Regions from separate parts of the Homo sapiens genome. Here region 1 is linked to region 2. Evidence: promoter capture Hi-C in human tissues and cell types (Jung and others, 2019). All regions are on one chromosome and are shown on one strand. Each heading gives the region's core, a stretch centred on a gene start or on the middle of the fragment in contact. The rest is flanking DNA. Distances are from core to core; before and after follow the strand shown. Region 1 overlaps DCAF8 (DDB1 and CUL4 associated factor 8). Region 2 holds the start of KCNJ9 (potassium inwardly rectifying channel subfamily J member 9).

Region 1 (4,069 bases), core at 907-3,406, 140 kb after region 2:
GTCCGCGTCTGTGGCCCCAACCCCAGGTTCTCGCCAGCGCTGTGGATGGGAAAGGCTTGTTAGTAACTTCCCTGGATGGAACAAGGACAAGCCTGTTAGGTCTTAGCCAGAATTTAGATGCTTTAGGCCAGAGATCAGCAGAATTTTTCTTAAAGGGCCAGAGAGTAAATACTTTAGACTTGTGGTCTATATGGTCTTTATTGCAACTATTCAACTCATTGTAGCGTGAAGGCCGCCACAGACAATACACAGAATGGGTATGGCTGCAAGCCAATGAAACTTTATTTACAAAAACCAGCAGCAGGCCAACTGCCAGTTTGCCAACCCCTGAACTAGGCCTCTTTTGGCATAAGAGGAAAAATAGAAGGGTCACACTGAGACTTGTTATTTCTTCTCAATTCCCTCCTCCACCCTCCAGCTTTTGCCTTTATGAAGATAGCATTACACATGGACGGCAATGGACAAAAGTAGATACCACCCTTTTCTGCTGATGTCTCTTCCAAGGCTATATCAGGGATCTGATGGGGACAGAGGACAGTGGATAGGAAATCCGACCAAGATCACCTGATTACTGCTTGAAGTCACTACTCTGGAACTTTTTAGCCCTCTTAAAAGGGTCACTCCCTTGGGAATTCATTTCCAACCCTAGCTTACCCGGTGATGGCGTCTCTGTCTCAGGTGATGCATAAGGAACCACAGCATGTGACTATCAAACAGGTCAGTTTGGTGCAAGCTATCTTCATCCCGCTCCCGCTTGTTCTTCTTAATCACCTGGAACCCAAAAAGGTTGGGAAGAGGGGGCAGCAATGAAGAGGAACCCGGGACCTGATCAAGAAGGCTGATCTCCTATCCCAATAAAAGCTTCCCTTAAGTTGAAGTGGAGCTACATTAGATTAGGAAATGATGCCCTAGGTTCAGCTGCTGAAAAGGTAGCAGGCTTTAATACAGAATAATTCTTAAAGATGCTCCTTATCCCCATCCTATTACAAATTAGTGCCACTTCACAGCTGCCCCCTGGAGCAGGACTATTCCTACAGAGGAAATTACAGGAATGTGGGGGAGGGTGTTAGAGCAGTGCCTTTAAAGAACTGGGCAGCAAGTTATTCCTCCCTATGACAATAAGAATCAACAGTATGTGGATAAGCAGAAAGAAAATAACTTCTGCAGTCAGCCACTTACATCTTTTAACCCTGTCAGCTCAGTGGAAGCTTCAGCTGTGGGTGCCCAGATCTTCACATCATGGTCTAGGCCACTGGTTGCCAGCACAGGCAGGTGAGGGTGGGGCTCAAGACAGTTTACCTGGTCAGGAAGAAAGGAAAACACAGACTCAGCAGTGTGTGGGAGTAGGGTTTAAAAACCACTACTCACCTTGAGCCAAATAACTGCCCTTGATCAGGGCTGAGGCAGCTGCTGGGGAAGGGAGGCCCACCCATCCTGAGCCTAAGCCAAAGGGCACTGAGGGTAGAGAAACCAGACACAGACTGGGTATAAGACCAGGCACATCAATCATTTCCTATGTATAGGTCGGGGGTGGCTTCATCCCCAGATATGGCCCTAGGGGTGGGTGAGTGGACTGCCCAAGCTTACTGCTGGCTTCGTAAGAAGACAATGAAATCCAGATGACCTCATTCACTCCAGATTCCAAAGCTCCAACTTGCCCAAGGCTGGAAAAAACCATCTCAGTGGCTTTCACCAAGTGGCAAATAAATTTTAAAAAATGAAGAAAGCAGCAGCTGCCAATGAACCCCCAGAGAAGAGTCGGAGAACTATATTCATTTGGCAGTGTTTACTAGAACTGGAGGAAGGCACAGGCTGAGAAGAGGAGGCTGAGTTGCAGGGAGTGGTGGGAGTGATGGAGGCTCATGTCTGCTTGAGAGAACCTTGCACATCCCAGGGGGAACATCCTACTACTTGCCCTGAGCACAACAGGCTCAGCTATAAGGCAGCACATTAAAACCAAGCAGCTTCTTGGGGCTCCCAAAGCCTCAATCTCAGCCACCCTCTGGGTAAATTCACTGAACAAGGCAAAAGAAATAAACTCCAGCAGGCAGGCCTTCTAGCTTAGGCAGCTTCCTTCTGTCCGAAAGGCACCCAATGCCCCCTGCTGTCTGACTTGGAAACATGAGCTTCCCTAAGGGAAGGGCAGGGAAGTTCCTACCCCATCCAGAAGAGTTAGTTCCAGATCTAGCTGCTAAAGCATTTTGAGTCTTTTAGTGAAAAGAGGAACACATAGGAAAGGCACCCTGCCTTGCAGCTGGACCTATAGTCCAAGAAAACAACTTCTTTTAGTTCTCTCTGGACCAACCACCTCCGCTGCCTCACCTGCACAGGCAGAGAACAGCTGAGGAGAAGTCAAGGGCAGGCATGGAAAATAGAGCTGACCTACAGACTTCCCACTTACTTTGACTTCCATCTTACAAATAAACAAATGCTCAGAAAAGACTGAAGCTAAGACTGAGCTTATGAATAAAACAGAAACCCCGTTCTTTATCTCCTCCTCCCATTCCACATATCAGCCTATTGTGAAGTTTATCTTTGGGCTCTTTTAGGCAGTGCAGTTAAAGTCCAATGCCTGGAATAGTATCTATCTATAGTAATGGACAACTTACATATACAAACCTGCACTTTTTCATCTATCTCCTAATAAGCCCTTGTTACAGACCTGTACTCTGAGCTAGCTCTGCTTGAATAAGTCAGGAAAATAAAAAAACACAGGGGAACAATTCCTTGGAACTTAAGACTAAGGAAAAAGCCAGTGGCAAGAGGAACAAGAGAATAACATACAGTACCTGAATTGGAGCCTGCGGGGGGAGCCGACAGAGAACTTCTGGGCCAGAGTACCTGGTCACTTCACCAGACCTGTCTGAATGCCAGGACTTATCCTGTCAATAATGCCTGAGCAGAGAAAAGAGCTCTGGCCTTAGATGACTGGGCTGGGGGAATGTAGAGAATGGGATCAAGCATCAAAGTGCTCTTGGGAGACTAAGGGGCTGTCCTCTGATACCACCCCCAACCCTTGTCCCTGTGAAGCTGAATGGGAACAAAGAAAAGATCCTCAAATCAGTCAGGAGATCTGGGCAAGGCAGAAAATAACTTCTAAGATCTTTGGTTCTAACATTCTACGTTACAATTACATTCTACTCTACATTTACAATTTGCATGATATAGAACTGCTGAGTCTACTACATTGAAAGTAGTGCCTGGTAACCCCCACTGCTGGAAAATTAGGACCAAAAAACAGAGCAGAGGGAGCCAAGTAAAAGACCACATCGATCATTCAGCTTACACAGAGACAAGAATATGTAAGGAAATTTGCTTCAGGGGTAGCCTCTATATCTCTTATTCTACTCATTTACTCTTAGGACCACTAAAACTTAGGCCTGGGGCCCACCCATCCCAAGTAGATGCCTTCCTCACCTGGGCAAATGGGTTAATCATCAAACCCTGGCATTGGCTGAGCTAAAAGCAAACTGGCCTGCAGAATGCTTTTGGAGAATGGACAAATGCTGGCCTGGGAGAGGGCATTCAGCCCTGCATCTCTCTGGAACAGAATGCAAGGCAATAGCTTATGTCAAGAAAAAATTCACTGGCCCCTTCTGACTTCCTTTCTCTAAATGCCTATTGCATAATTCCCATTAAGACTCAAGTGTTTTGGGTTTGTTCACTGCAGATGACACAGGGGGACCTATGGAAGAGTTGGAAATGAAGCAGGGAAGAGTGAGACACACCTTGAACTTCTAGACTCCTCTCCATTTGTATTCAAACCATAAAAACCCTAGATCTATGCAGGTCCCAGGTCCCTGAAATTTAGAGGAAACCAGAAGAAAATTTGAAATACCCTTTCACCAGGGCAAGAAAAACATAAGGAATGGGATCCTGATTGCAAAGAACCATTCTAAATTCTAAAACCACTCTCTGAAAAAACCTCATCAAGAGATGGCTAGGCTCTTTGAAGTTCCCCACAGCTAAGAAGGAATAAAAAGGAAGAGAGACTTAGCTGTCTCAGTCATTCCTTAGAGGCCTTGGATAACCAGACTATTCTGGGCAATCAGTATAATTTAGTCTTCCA
Region 2 (4,091 bases), core at 715-3,214:
TATTCCACAGATATTACATTACTGAGGCACACTAGGCTAAGGCTGACAACACCAAATGCTGGCAGGAATGTGGAGCAACAGGAACAGGAATTCGTGGCTGATGGGAATGCAAAATGGTACAGCTACTTTGGAAGAAAGTGTGGCAGTTTCCTAAAAAACTAAACATACTCTTACCATACGATCCAGGAATCATGCTCCTTGGTATCTACCCAAAGGAGATGAAAACTTACGTCCACATGAAAATCTGCCGATGGATGTTTATAGCAGCTGTATTCATCATGGCCAAATCTTGAAAGCAACCGAGATGTCCTTCAGTAGGTAAATAGATAAATAAACCATGGCCATCCTGAAATGGAATATTATTCAGTGCCAAAAAGAAATGAACTACAAAGCCATGAAAAGACATGGAGGAACCTTAAATTTACATTACTAAGTGAAAGAAGCCAATTTGAAATGGCTACATATTGTACAATTCCAACGACATGACATTCTGGAAAAGGAAAATTATGGAAACAGGAAAAAGAGCAGTTGTTGCCAGGGGTTAGGGAAGGGGGATTGACTAGGCAGAGCATAGAGGACTTTTACAGCAATGAGACTATAATGGTGGATACACATCATTATATATTTGTCCAAACCCACAGAGTGTACAACACCAAAAGTGAACCCTAATGTCAGCTATGGACTTTGGGCGATTATGATGTCAATGTAGCTTCATCACTTGTAACAAATGTGCCATTCTGGTGGATGTGTGGGGACAGGGGGCATACGGAAAATCTCTATAACTTTCCTCTCAGTTTTGCTCTGAATCTAAAACTACCCTTTAAGAAGTCTTCTTTTAAAACAATTTACAAAGCATGAGGTGATACAGATGTGGGAGTTTGGCTCCTGTCTCTGCCCAACTCTGTGACATTCGATAAATTACTTAACATGTCTCTGTTTCAGTTTCCTCATCTATAACTGGGAAAAATAACACCTGTCTTATAGAGTTGCCATGGGGATGACATGAGGCATGTGTCTCGTTCATATCCCATGCTCAGTGAATTAGTAGCAGCAGCCACTGTGTGTTTGTGTGTCTTTATCCCTCCTGGGTTAATGAGCTCCTTGTGGGCAGGGACTCACCCATTCTGTAACCACCCCATCTAACACACTGCCTGGCACTTGGGCTCCGCAGAAGTTTGCCGAGTGAATACTTAGTAAGCCCTAACCTAGGCTTTTCTCTCTGGTGGACATTTGGGTTGTTTCTAGGGTTTTTGCTATGAATAAAACACATTTCAAAGCCCTTTGTGGTTTTTTTGGTTTTTGTTTGTTTGTTTTTTCTTCGTTTGATCTGCTGACTCTGTGAAGCAGGCAGAAAGGGGATATTTGCTCTTGTCCACACCCTGGTACAGATGGAATAACTGTGGCTCAGGGAAGTGAAGTGACTCCTATGGGACACAGTGCAAATCAGTGGCAATAATTAGAACCCCTGACCCTGCCTCCCTTCCTTTAGTAGATCTATTTTCCTTCTAGCTACCGCCTTCTGGATCCATGGCCTCTCCAAAACTAGACCATGATGGTCAGCCTGACCTGAGAGCAGCACCTGCACGCAGAGACCCATGTTGAAGGTGGTGAGCTGCCAGCTACCAGATGGCCCTCTGAAACCCCAGGGAACCTAGCACCTTATTCTCAAATACATGAGGGCTTGTATTTTCCCCCAGGAAGGAGCTTCTTAGGAAAGAGCCAGCGTGCCAGCTTTGTTTTTCTTTCTTCTTCTTTTTTTTTTTTTCCTATGAGGGGGTGAGGAGCCAAGCTCTGAGTTGTCCAGGAGGAGGGACTTTGGCTAAAAATAGCTATGGCGTGTGGTTTGGATCAACCCCTAGTGGTACCCAGGACTGGGGAGGGGAGGGGGATGCTCTGGAGCTGTCGCCAGACTGGTTGCCGTGGAAACAAGAGAGGAGCAGGGGAGCCTGGGAAGTAGGGATGACACAGATAGCAAGTCCTAGTCAGAGCTGCCGCTACATTTAGGAGAAACAGCGGTGTCTGCGGCTCCCACCCTTCGGGGGGCCCGTGGGGGGGGCGGTGTCAGGGGCATGGACGCCACCCCCCAGGGGTCTCTGCTGCCGGCTACTCTCCTCTCCACGTGCTGTGAGTTGAGTTGCGGGGGACTTGGGGTTTGGGCCCCTATTTCCAAGGCAAGTGGGGGTTTGGGAGGAGCTGGTTCTTGGGGGAGTTTTCACCAGGTCTCTCCTTCCAAAAAATGAGCCCCCTTACTCCCCAGCTCTCTAGAGGGAGGAAGAGGGGCCCAGGAAAAGTGGTATTGCAATCTTCTGCAAAGGGGTCATAGCATGCACAAGAAATGAGGAGTAGGTTGGAGGAACTGAAATTCTTGGAGGGAAGATGGAGAAATCAAGTCCTTGATCTTGAGATAGAGGTAACAATTTCACACTTTTCCTTCCCCTGAGAAAAGTGCAGTCCCCCACTCAGGAAGACAGGATGTGGGACACATTCAAAATAAGGTTTACCTAGATCCCTGGGGCAATGGAGAGTGAGAGAGTTCTGGGGGTGATCCGACATCGGGGTTCCTTCCCCATCCCTGGGCAGAGAGATCTGTCTAGGCAAGCCGACTGGGGGTCAGATTACCTAAGACCCTGAGAGAACATCTGGAAGCCCACCTGGGACTAAAGCTAGGATAATGGGAGCAGGGTCGTTTTCTGCATGACCTGGGGTCTCTGAGCCAGTCAATGCTTACTCTTCCTGAGGACATCTGAGCTTCAGGGAAGGAAAAGGAAGCCCATTGTTGGGGGCAGGGGAAACCCTAATCTTCCATTGCCATGGGGCTCTTGGACCCTGTGTCCCCTGACTCCATGGACAATAAATGCAGGGGGTGCCCCTAAGCTCAAAGCCATTTCATTTTGATTTCTCTTCCTACCTTCTCTACCCCAAGACACACAAACACACACACACACACCCTCTCCAGAGTGCTGACTGCAGAGGACCTCACCCCAGAACATAAGATGCTGGAGTGCTAGGTTTAGAGTCACATACCCAGGCAGTTTCTCCCCAGGACCTGGTCAACCATCCAGGCCATCTGTGGTTCCTATGGCACACTCCTCCATCCCCCACCCACTAGCCAGCCCACGTTTCCGTGGAGTGGGAGGAGAGGATCATTCCCAGGAAAGAGAAGGGAAGGTGGAAGAGTCCCAAATCCTATTCTAAACCTTTCCCTGTATGGTCCATATCTCCTAGAGGACCCTGGGTGCTTTGGGGAAGGGCTCTGGACCTCTCTCAGAGCAGATTGCAGCTCAGAGAGCTCCTCAGAGGCAAGCATGTGAAGAAAAATCAGGTGGGCTTCGCTTGGAATGTGGGCTTTGGGGCATATGGCAGGTGGGGGCGGGGCTGGTGTTAGGATAGTCCATGGGAAGTAAGAGGCTGGGGGAAAATATAACTAGAGGGAGTGGGGAAATAAATGTGGGTGCTTAGTGCTTCACCTGATCTGATTCCATGTCTCTCATGAAGAATAGGATCCCAGAGGGATACGAGCCTAACTCTTTATAACTCTGGGCTTCCTTTCCCAGGCTTCTGTGTTGGGATCTTCCAGTTCCCCTCCCCATTTGCAGGCTGTCTCCACTAGGAGAAAAAACCCAAGGGAAATGAGGCTGGCCCAAGAGCAGCAGTGATCGTGGGTAGGTCTCAGGGAGGATTTCTAGTGGGAATTTCCTAATGTTCCACCCTTGTGCACTGGAGGGTTTCCACTGACTTTCCACAGCTTTCATTTCTTTCTCGTTTGTAAGCATGTTGAGGGGAGGGAATGGAGCGGAGTGAGTGAGGTCCAAGGAGGGAAGAATGAGAAAGACTGTGTATCAGTCTTGGGGTGAACTTCAAAACAGCCTGCGAGGAGAGCCATTGGTGGCTGCACTGGCTACAGCTGGGGAAGGGATGGTGGAAGTCCTTAGGGCAGGGAGGGCTCCATTACCCGCCTGCCCCCCTCCCCAAAAAGCCCCCAGTCTATTGATTTCAGGAAATCACTAGGGGGATCTGGGCCTGGGTCTTTGGCCCCGGGGCTGCCCCTGAGGTGCTGCACACCCCAGCTGGAGGTGATGGCACCAAAATAT

The links. Contacts are between HindIII fragments. The study calls those that stand out against the background at their distance.
Region 1: a fragment that was not itself captured here is called in contact with the fragment with the promoter of KCNJ9 in region 2 in 1 of the 25 tissues and cell types used here (aorta).

What each region holds. Positions count from the first base shown.
Region 1 is chr1:160,217,670-160,221,738 of GRCh38, forward strand. It overlaps DCAF8 (DDB1 and CUL4 associated factor 8), which reads right to left. Exons shown (of 14, transcript NM_015726.4): 12 at 1,180-1,299; 13 at 655-771; 14 at 1-39. Among named protein-coding and RNA genes, the nearest start is that of PEA15-AS1, 11 kb to the left of the region's middle. The HindIII fragment of the contact is 5,386 bases long and covers 1-4,069 here.
Region 2 is chr1:160,079,574-160,083,664 of GRCh38, forward strand. KCNJ9 (potassium inwardly rectifying channel subfamily J member 9) reads left to right here and starts at 1,965. Exons shown (of 3, transcript NM_004983.3): 1 at 1,965-2,124. The HindIII fragment of the contact is 10,034 bases long and covers 1-4,091 here.